Linked DNA regions of Homo sapiens: region 2 is linked to region 1. The links are contacts of gene promoters, found by promoter capture Hi-C in human tissues and cell types (Jung and others, 2019). All regions are on one chromosome and are shown on one strand. Each heading gives the region's core, a stretch centred on a gene start or on the middle of the fragment in contact. The rest is flanking DNA. Distances are from core to core; before and after follow the strand shown.

Region 1 (4,963 bases), core at 161-2,660:
TGGGAGCCCATCAACTCAGCTCCTCCACCCCGCCAATCCCCACCAAAGCCCAGGGCACAGCCTACAGGTTTTTCTGTGTTTCTCTGGGAACTGCAGGAAAAGGAAATGGGCCCCTGTGGCTGTCCTCCGGGGCTGGCAGTATGTTGAAAAGGCAGAGGGAAAGCAAGCCCCCCCCACCTCCTGGCAGAGATAGGGGTCTTCTGCCCCAGAATGGTCCCACCATGGAGGACCCCCAGCCCCAGGAGCAGGGCCTCCCTGGGCCAGACCTCAGGCCTAGGGCCAGCCGGGGTCAGTGTGGCCTCACATGCTCCCCTCGGGCTGGGAGACAGAGAAAGCCCCAAGGAGGACAGCTTCCTGGGCTGCACGGAGTGGCACTGGGGGGTGGGGAGTCCATGGCTGGTAGGAAGGAAGAGGTCCCCTGGCTTTGGGGGAGCCTGTGCTGGCTAGGGAATTGTGGGTGCTGGGCAGGGACTGGTCGGCTCTCTGGGTCCCTGGCAGGATAGGTAGGGAGGTCAGCTCACCGTGGTGAAGTTCTCAGGCCCACAAGGTTGGCCACGGAAGCGACAGTCCAGCAGCATGTCATCCAGGGAGTGCCCAGCACGGGCATAGAGTTGCGCCATGTCAAAGGTGGGACTGGGCATGAAGCCGGGCGGTGCAGGGGGCCGGCCCAGGGCGCGCAGGAAGGCGGCGTGCTCTGCGGGATCCAGGCCCAGCAGCGCAGACCCAGCCCAGTGCAGGTCGTTGGGCGTTAGGCGCGAGCGGCGCAGTGGGTTGATGTTGCACAGGGTGACAGCCGGGAAGATGAGCCGGTGGCTTTCTCGCTCATCCAGGGCAGTCTGGTGGTGGAACTCCCTGTAGTAGCGCACCCTCTCAGCCACCTGGTAGAGGAAGGTGGCCACTGACAGGACCACGGCCGCTGCCCACATCCCCCGGCGCAGGCTCAGGCTGCCTGGCCCGAAGACGTGGCCCAGCCCGTGCATCGAGCAGTTGCTGGCGAACACGCGGATGTCCGAGGCTGGCCGCCGGGCCTCCTCTGGGCCTGAGGTGGGCTTCATGGCCAGAACCCAGGAGCGGAACCAGCTACAGAGGCTTGGAAGAAGCGAGAGAGAGTCAGTCAGGGGGCTAAGGAGGCTAAGATAGGATTCAGGAGGCCAGGCAAGGAGAGGAGAAGAGAGGGTGGGAGACAGCCAAGGTTGGAAGGCAGGGAGGCACTAGCCTGGCAGGATTGGAGGAGGTGATCTGGCCGGTCAGGTCCCACTGTTCCTTCCCGAGGAACAGGCGGTGGCTCCACTGGGCTAGGCACTGGGCTGGGGACTCCGCAGCAGACCAGGTGGGACGTAGCTGACCGTGGCAGGCAGGGGCTGCGGAGCGGTGCTGAGCCGGCGGTGCTGAGCCGGCGCTGCTGCAGAGGATTGGGTTTCAGCAGTAGGGGGGAAAGGGGGCCGACAGAGCAGTCTGGGGGGTAGGAGAGGTCCCTAGGGCCCCAGGCTGAGCCATTAGTGCAGCATGGAGGGGGGCATGGCTGTCCAAGACGAGAGGCGCCAGGAGGAAACCGCAGTAATCCTAGGGAGAGCTTGAGAAAAGCCCAGAGGTAGATTGGGCCTGGAGATGCCTTGGGGCCCCCTAGGCTCCCAGTTGCAACCCCTGTACACTGGCCGCGAGGGTCAGTCGCTGACCCCTGGCCTAGCTCCTCTCTCCTTTTGCCTCTGCGGCCTTCCCTCTAGCTTCACCCAGGATCTGTTCCTTCACGAATACCAGAGCTGGCTCTTGGCCAAGCTGGGAAATGGTTGGAAGGCTGGCATCAGCAGATCTCTTCTTTCTGTGCCCCTAGCATCTCAGCCTACACTGGATGGCCAGGGCACTCTTCATGTCCCACTTCCAGGGCCCGTCTGTTTCCTAAGTGTCCCTCTCTCCCTAGGGAGTCAAAGCCTACCTCCCCACACTCAGGCCTCTGAGGATGTTGGCCTCTACAATGGTTATGGGCTCACCTGCCACCCCAGGTAGAACATGGGTGCCCCACCTGCCACCCTCCCGGGTACCACGGGTACCCCACCTGCCATCTCAGGCACAACATGGGTATTCTGTGATTTCCCATCTTACGCTGCTATATCCAGGACCTGGAAAACCTACATTTTTCCAAAGGGCTGCATACCACCCATTATGTGCACATACCATAGTTTATTTAATGACTCCCCCACTGATGGGCACTGGGGGTGTCCAGTCTTTCCATTACAAACAATGTTGCCGTATCATCACACAGATGTGAACTCCCAGGACTTTGGTGGGCTTTTTTTGACCATGAGTGGTAGAAACATGGTTCCACCAGCCAAACGTGTGCACACACCATGCTGCAACTGCTGGGCCACCTGTCTGTCCTCCCAACAGGACACAAGCTTCATGGGGGCAGGGACTGTCCTCATTCCCCATCGTGGGCTCAATGGCACATGACAGGTGCTTGATTAATAAACACTTTGGAAGGACTGAGTACCATGGTTACAGCACAGGCGTACCAGCTCCCCAGAGCCACAGTGCCATGCTTTGCAAGTATTTACTGTAGATGATCCCACTCACACTCTCAAAACAGGCATTCAGCATCAAGCACAGCTAGGCTCCCACTCTCCACTGTGGAGCGAAGGCCGAGGCGAGGTTAGGAAGACGGCGCGGCTCCTGCGGTCTAGCTCTTCCAGCTGGACTAGCCAAGGGGTTTCACTGCTTCTCTAGGGGGCGGGTGAAGGGCTGGATTTAAAGAAGCCGCCCAGAAGATATAAATCTGGTGTCAGAGGCATTTTGGGCAGCCTGAGGCTGATGACTGAGTGGGTGAAGCAGGAACCACCTTGGCTGGCTGCCTGGTGAGGGAGGGGTCAGGCCAACAAGCAGGGCCCCAGCAGGGCTTGTGGACTTGCCAGCTGAGGCCCTACTCTGGGCTGCCCTAAGGAGGGGTTTAGCTGTGAACCAGCCCCAGGCTCTGCTCCTGGACCTCCACTGCTTAAAGACACAGCCTCTGATCTGTCAGGAAGTGGGATATCAAATCAGGGTGGATGTGGGCCTGGGGTTTTTGGATGGCTTGTCCCCAAAGCACCATCTAGTTCTAAACCACACCCACAAGAGCCCGTGGGTCCCACTCTGGCTCCTGCACGCAAACTTGAGCCACTGCTGCCTCTTCCAGGCTGGCCTCCCAGCAGCACCAGCTGCTCCATCAATGCACTGTATCACACCCCTGAAAGAGGGTACCACCCTTCTTTACACAGGGTAAATCCAGAATGCTTGCCTGGCTGTGAAGGTGCATTGCAGGTACCACCTCTTCTCCTGCCCAGGGGAACAGGGCACCGTGTAGTCCCACAGCCTGGATGTGGCTGGATAGGGGAAGGATCCCAGTAGGAAGTGACAGCGGCACCAACATGGGGAGGGCTGATGCATCTGCAGCAGTGCAGGGACACGAGGTCCTGCTGGGGCACCAGTTCAGCCAAGGACCTACTTGTGTGCCTTTCCAGGCCCCTCAGAAGCCAGCTGGAGCCTAGCCCCCTCATCCACAGTCTCAGGGCCACAGGCGCCCATCACTCAGGATGTCTGCCTTCCCCTTTCAAGGTGCGCCTCCCAGAACCTGCTGGGGATGCTGGCCTGTCCACAGCCGCACCCTCCTGGACCGATTCTGTACTGGATTCTGCAGTAGCTGCTCCATTTAGCTCTGTACTCGTCAGCACTGTGGGCAGGAAGCAGAGAGCTCCAGGTGGGCATCAGCCCCTCCCATCTCCTTCAGTGCTGGGTGTTCTTGGTGTAGATGGAGGCTGGTTCACAATCTCAGTGGGTGAAAGACGCCAGGCACACAGGGCAGGGCCGGTGGAAGACAGCCAGGCAGGCTGGCGCTTCTCGTGGGAACTGGCCATTGTGGCCCCGTCCCTCCTACCCTGACCCAAGTGTTGGGCCCTGTTAGGCCTGTGTCCCTTGTGGGTGGGGAGGGGAGGTGAAATCTAGAAATCAGGACTGTGTTCACTGTGCAGGGAGAAAGGAGGGAGGTTGTTTGGAAGATGGGGACTGTGGGTCCCGGGGTGAGCCAGGGGATAGGCTCCTTCTCCCATGGAGGGAGTGGGGACACAGGAGAGGGAGTCAGTCGCCAGTCTAGGGAAGTGAGGTCCTAGCAAGGGTGTGGGAAGAGCCTAGGTTTGAATTCCCAGGCCCACTTCCAGACCCTGATTTTTAAAAATTCCCTGGAGCTACTGTAGGCCTGGCCAATTTGAAGCTGCTGGGTGGGGCAGGGAGACTGGCCAGAACGTCTCTTGAGAGGTCTGGAGGGGTCTGGGCAAAGGGAGAATAGAGTGGAGGTGTCTCGTGGAACTCTGTCTCTGCCCATTGCAGCCCAATGACTCTGGCAGACTCTGGTGGGAGGGAGGCAGCCGGCAGGACTGGGGAGGGGAGGGAGGGATTGGCCTCCCCTGCCAGCTGCTCGGCCCCGGCTTTATTGTGAGCAGGAGCAGCCGCAGCGACTCTCCACATGCTGGCCCTCCTGGGGGCTCAGTCCCCAGTAGGCTCCCCCAGGCTGAGCCCCAGCCCTAACACTGATGCTTGGCAGCGACCACACCTCAGGGGGCCCTTCTCAGGACTTGTGCTGGTGGCTCCTGGGGCCTTCTGGCTTTTTGGGCGGTGGGGCCGCTGTCCTCGGGGCATCCAGGGCCTGCCTCCGGATGAGCTCGGCGTATAGCCCGCCTTTCTTCAGGAGCTCTTCATGTGTCCCAGCCTGGAAGATGGGAGGGAAGGGCGGATGGTTGCTCCAAGGCATGCAGGCTTCAGAACCCTCAGAGAGCTGAGCCTCTCTATCAGCCATTGGGCCCATGGTCACTTAGGCCGGTGTCCCTTCTGGGGACACTCTGAAACCAATGCCCAATCTGAAAGGAACCGCCACTGGCATGCTGCATTAGTTACTGCCACTTCCTTACTTAGCTGAATTTTGGAAGAACATGATTCCCTC
Region 2 (4,505 bases), core at 1,777-4,276, 1.4 Mb after region 1:
GCAGTTGTTGAGCATCATGTGAGGTGTGCTAGACTGGGGACAGAACTCTAACTGGGTGACACCACCTTCCCATGCACTGCAAGGAGGCCCAGTGCCTGTGTCTGGGACTTGTATTTGACATACAATACTGTTCATGATAATTTTCCAAGTGATAAGCAAATTGCTTTTGTAAAAGAAAGTTACTTAAATAATAATACTCAGTATTACAAAACCATGGCACATATATACCATAGAATACTGTGTGGCCATAAAAAAAGAATGATAATAGACCAATAGTTAATGGTAACCCCCTGGGAGCAGGTGAAGAAACCAGGGAGCGGGTGGGGGAATCTTCTCTTTTCCGATTTACATGTGATAACTCAATGTCCATGTTTCCAGCCTTCCAGGTACTGAGCCTTCTGGGTGGTTAAAAATAAAAGAGAGAAATTGATAAAATATTCCCCAGGAAGTCTTCTCTGCCTCCTGCAGCTGGCATTGTCCTAATTCCTCCTCCTTCTTCAGATCCTCCCAGGCTTTCTCTCATCCAGTTCCTCTGCCCCGTTCCTTCCAGGCAGCTCTCATCCCTCCCAGTGTTCAGCCCCTCCCCTCTGATGCTGTCACTCTTTTTTCACACAGCAGTTGTCCACTGTCCACCCGGCTGGAACATCACCATGGGGGTGGTGAGTCTGAGGGCAAAAGGCACCCACAATGGGCCGGGGCATCCCTGCTGCCTGTGTCCTGTGCCCAGCACCCAGGCCCTGACCCCCTGTCCCTCAGCCACACTTGAGTTGAGTCCCACAGCACCCCCTTCCACACGTGCCTTCTCCACCCTGACCTACTGCCTCCCCAGAGGCCTCTCGGATGGTGAGGACCTAGTATAGTCAGGTAGTACCATGCCCAAGGAGGTGTATAAACTGTGCAGGAATCAGTAAAAATAAAAATGCCAATGCTGCCCTCCCGAGTCAGCTGGGGCTTACAATCAGGTCAAAATGATGGTGTCAGCATTATTAAAGGCAGAGAAAGGTCTTTCTAGTCATACCTCGAGGAAGACGATCAAGGAAGGGACAAGTCCCCTGCTCAGTGATAAAACCACATATACAGCAAGAGAAATAGACAAGTCGTCTTCCCTGTATGAGAGAGATGGCTGAGTTGGGGTGGGGGCAGCAGGGCAGTTGCTAGGAAGCCCTCCTGAAGAGCAAGAAAGAGAGCAACTAATGCAGCTCTTGTACGAATCCAATGGCCCCTGCATGAAGAAGGAGGAATCTGAAGCCCTCTCTGCCTGAAATGGTCCTACGACCCCAAGTACCAGGCGAGCTCCTGTCTTCTCAGTCTGGATCTCACTGTGGTGGCCCTAAAAAGAGTCAGTGACTGTCCTTAGGAGATGGCTTCCTGCATTGAGTGTGCCTGTGGAAGTAGCCAGCTGGTGTGCAGCTCATGCTGGAGCGAACATCAACAAGGAATCAACTGCACACTGTGGCCACCCTACCCCAGAGTCCCCTCTTCCTCCTACATTAGAATTCCCCTCGGAAACTGCCCTAAGCTTCCAATAGGGAAATTACATAAATTACTCAGACCAATGTGCTAACTGTAAGGAGACTAGAAGGTTAGCAATAGTTGGAGTCCTTGTACCAGCATACAGACAATTTTACATGGCATGGGAACTCCAGGCATGACTGACCTTGCCAGGGGGTGGCTCTTCACAAAACCAGAGGTAGTAAGAGACCTAAGAGCCCAAGGAAGTAAAAGTATAGATGAAAAGAAGTCAGTTGGGCAAATTTTCCTCTCAAATTTCCCTGCCCCACCTTCCGGAAACTATGCAATATTGCCCTCAGCAAGGAAGAAGAGAGCAGATGGGCAAGCCTCTTTTGTGATGGCAAATTCCATCTTCATAAAAGAGAACTTGTCTCCTCTGGTGGGCATGATGTGGTGAAGACTGGCTCCAGGTGTCCCAATGTGGACTCTCAGGGGGTCCTAAAAGGGGCTGGGAGAGTGAAACACACACAAGGCACAGACAGAGGCAGCCCAAGGAGACCACAGGGATCAGTGAGAGTTTCCTGGGGCGGGAGTCACTACCTGCCTCATCTCACTGTGCAGAAGCCTTAGCTGGGCAAAGGAGGTGAACTCCAGCACCAGCTTCTATGGCTAAAATGGACAGTAGGTGCCCTGGAAAAAGCCAGCAGGATGGCCACACTACCCAAGAGAGAGAATTTTTCACATCAGCCCCAATGGTATACACACTACTTATGCATAATAACTACCACAAATATTTCACCTTACCAGTACGCCATGAATGAAACATCACTTCCTCAAGGAAAGTGTCCTTACCTCCTGCAATCGCTTTGATATCCCAGTAATAGTCTTATAATATCCCTGCATCTTACCATCTAGTATTTCTCATATTTTCCATTTTTAACTTCTGTGAACATTTGTACATCTTGATCTATTCCTCTAGTTTCAAGAGCCCATGTCTGTTTCAGTCACCATTGGGATAGGTTGTGTACGGACATGGGCTTCCACTCTGGATTAGATGGGAGTGATTGGAGGATTTCTTGCAGAGGAATAACATAAGCTGATTTCGTCCTCTGGCTGGCCTGAGGGCACTAGAGGACATGTATGGAAGCCGGGACACAAGTTCAGGAAGTTGTCACCATAACCTGGATGAGAGATGATTTCAGCTTTGTCTGATGGTGGAGGCAATGAGAAGTGGTCAGATTTTGGATATATTTTGAAGCAGTGTGAACAGGATTTGCTGATGATTTGAGAGCAGGGTGTGAGAGAAAGGGAAAAGTCAAGGATAATGCCAAGGTTTTCTGTCCTGAGCACCCGGCGGGATGGGGGGGCCATTCTCTGAGATGGCCATTTTCATTGCAGCAGAAATGAAATTTGAGGGGGTGGTGGAAGTCAGGAGTTCAATCTGTGATGTATTAAATTGAATCCATCTGTTAAATGGTCTAATGGAGATGTCAAAAATGAAGCTGGAGTTCGAAGGGGAGGTGTTGGCTAAAGATATAAATTTGAGGGTCATCATCCCATTAAAGCCGCAGGATGGAATGAGAGCACTGAGGAAGTGGGAGTGAAAAGAAAAGTGGTCTAGGAACTAAGACCTGGGCCCTCGAATGTTTAAAAATGGGGATGTTAAGGAGAAACCAGCAAAAGAGATTGAGGAAAAGTGGCAGAGAAGTACAAAGAAAACAACAGAAAAAGAGTGACAGCCCCAATGTCGATTGAAAAAAAAATGCTACTGAGGGCTTGAATTAAAGATGAGAATCACCCATGACACATGGTCACCAAGGACTGTGACAAGCACAGTCTCAGTGAAGTGGAGCACTTGGGTGGGTGTTCTCCTGGGAAGCCCTCCTGACCCTCCTGATGGGTGGGACCCCTGCCACATGCTCCATGGCTCCTGTATGTCTATCAAAGCACACACAGTTCACCATAATTGCTGCAAAGATGTGCCTGTAGGGTTCCCTGTATATCATGAATGGCCAGTACATATATGAATATGCTCAAATGTGTCAATAAAAAAGAGAGGATATATTAATGGAAGGAGATCCCAGGGAAAGCCAAAGGGTGGATAAAGAACACAGGATGTGCTCTAGAGAGGAGCAGGCAGGCTTTTCCTCTTAGCCTGGAGGGGATGAGGAGAAGGTGAAGATGCAGAGCAGAGGATGCTGGGGGGCCTCCATGGCCTTGGTCTTCTCAGTCAGATAGAAAACAAAGTCTTCCAAAGAGAATAAAGGAGGTAGGGTGGGAATCATTACTTGGGAAGAAGGGCAAAGTGTGAATCAGGCACTGTGGGAAATGGAGAAGAAGTGAATTAGAAAGGAATAGAATCATTGCTCATTAGAGAGAGGCACTGGTTGAGGTCAAACTGGTGTAGATTTGCAGTGGGACCATTTGCCTGGCTCTACAATTTACTCCATCAAAGACTGGCTTCCCCAGAGCAAAGGTGGGAAAGGCCAAAGGCGTGTGTATCCGCGGAAGCAGAAGGGCTCATGAGAGAGGTAGATAGACCACAGACCAAGCTCTCAAAGGAGCTGGAATCATGACTGAGAGGCCAAACATGGGATCAATAATGGGCAGGCAGATAGCTGAGCCCCAAGGTGGCCCTGCGGTCATGGGAACAGAGAGAGGTAGACAAGATTAAGGTCAAAATGAGGATAATGAAACATTTTTGGTAACAGTAAGAACATGTAAACATCAGAAAACGTGTCATAAAAGGACTTTTCTGATTCTAAGATCTTGAAAGGGAATAGTTTAAGTGATGATCAGGTTTGGCTATGAATGCTGAACACCCAAAATAACAAAGGATGGAAGCAAAACAAAAACAAGCAAACAAACCAGAAGCTTCCTTTTCTCCCACATAAAAGTCCACAGCTAGGTGGTCCAGGCATGGCTTTCCATAGGGTCAAGAACCCGATTTCTTCTTTGTGGCTGTCTGGCTGGCTTGGCTTTCATTCCAGCATGCCATCACCCACATTAGCATCTCATCGACCTCCCAGCCAGTAGGAAGGAGGAAAGACAAG

The links. Contacts are between HindIII fragments. The study calls those that stand out against the background at their distance.
Region 2: a fragment that was not itself captured here is called in contact with the fragment with the promoter of ASIC3 in region 1 in 1 of the 25 tissues and cell types used here (thymus).

What each region holds. Positions count from the first base shown.
Region 1 is chr7:151,044,978-151,049,940 of GRCh38, reverse strand. It overlaps ASIC3 (acid sensing ion channel subunit 3), which reads right to left and starts at 1,410. Exons shown (of 11, transcript NM_004769.4): 1 at 522-1,410. The coding sequence starts at 1,055. It overlaps ABCB8 (ATP binding cassette subfamily B member 8), which reads right to left. Exons shown (of 16, transcript NM_007188.5): 16 at 2,159-4,732. The coding sequence ends at 4,592. The HindIII fragment of the contact is 19,092 bases long and covers 1-4,963 here.
Region 2 is chr7:149,630,936-149,635,440 of GRCh38, reverse strand. No RefSeq gene overlaps it. Among named protein-coding and RNA genes, the nearest start is that of TRC-GCA9-3, 2.5 kb to the left of the region's middle. The HindIII fragment of the contact is 5,408 bases long and covers 323-4,505 here.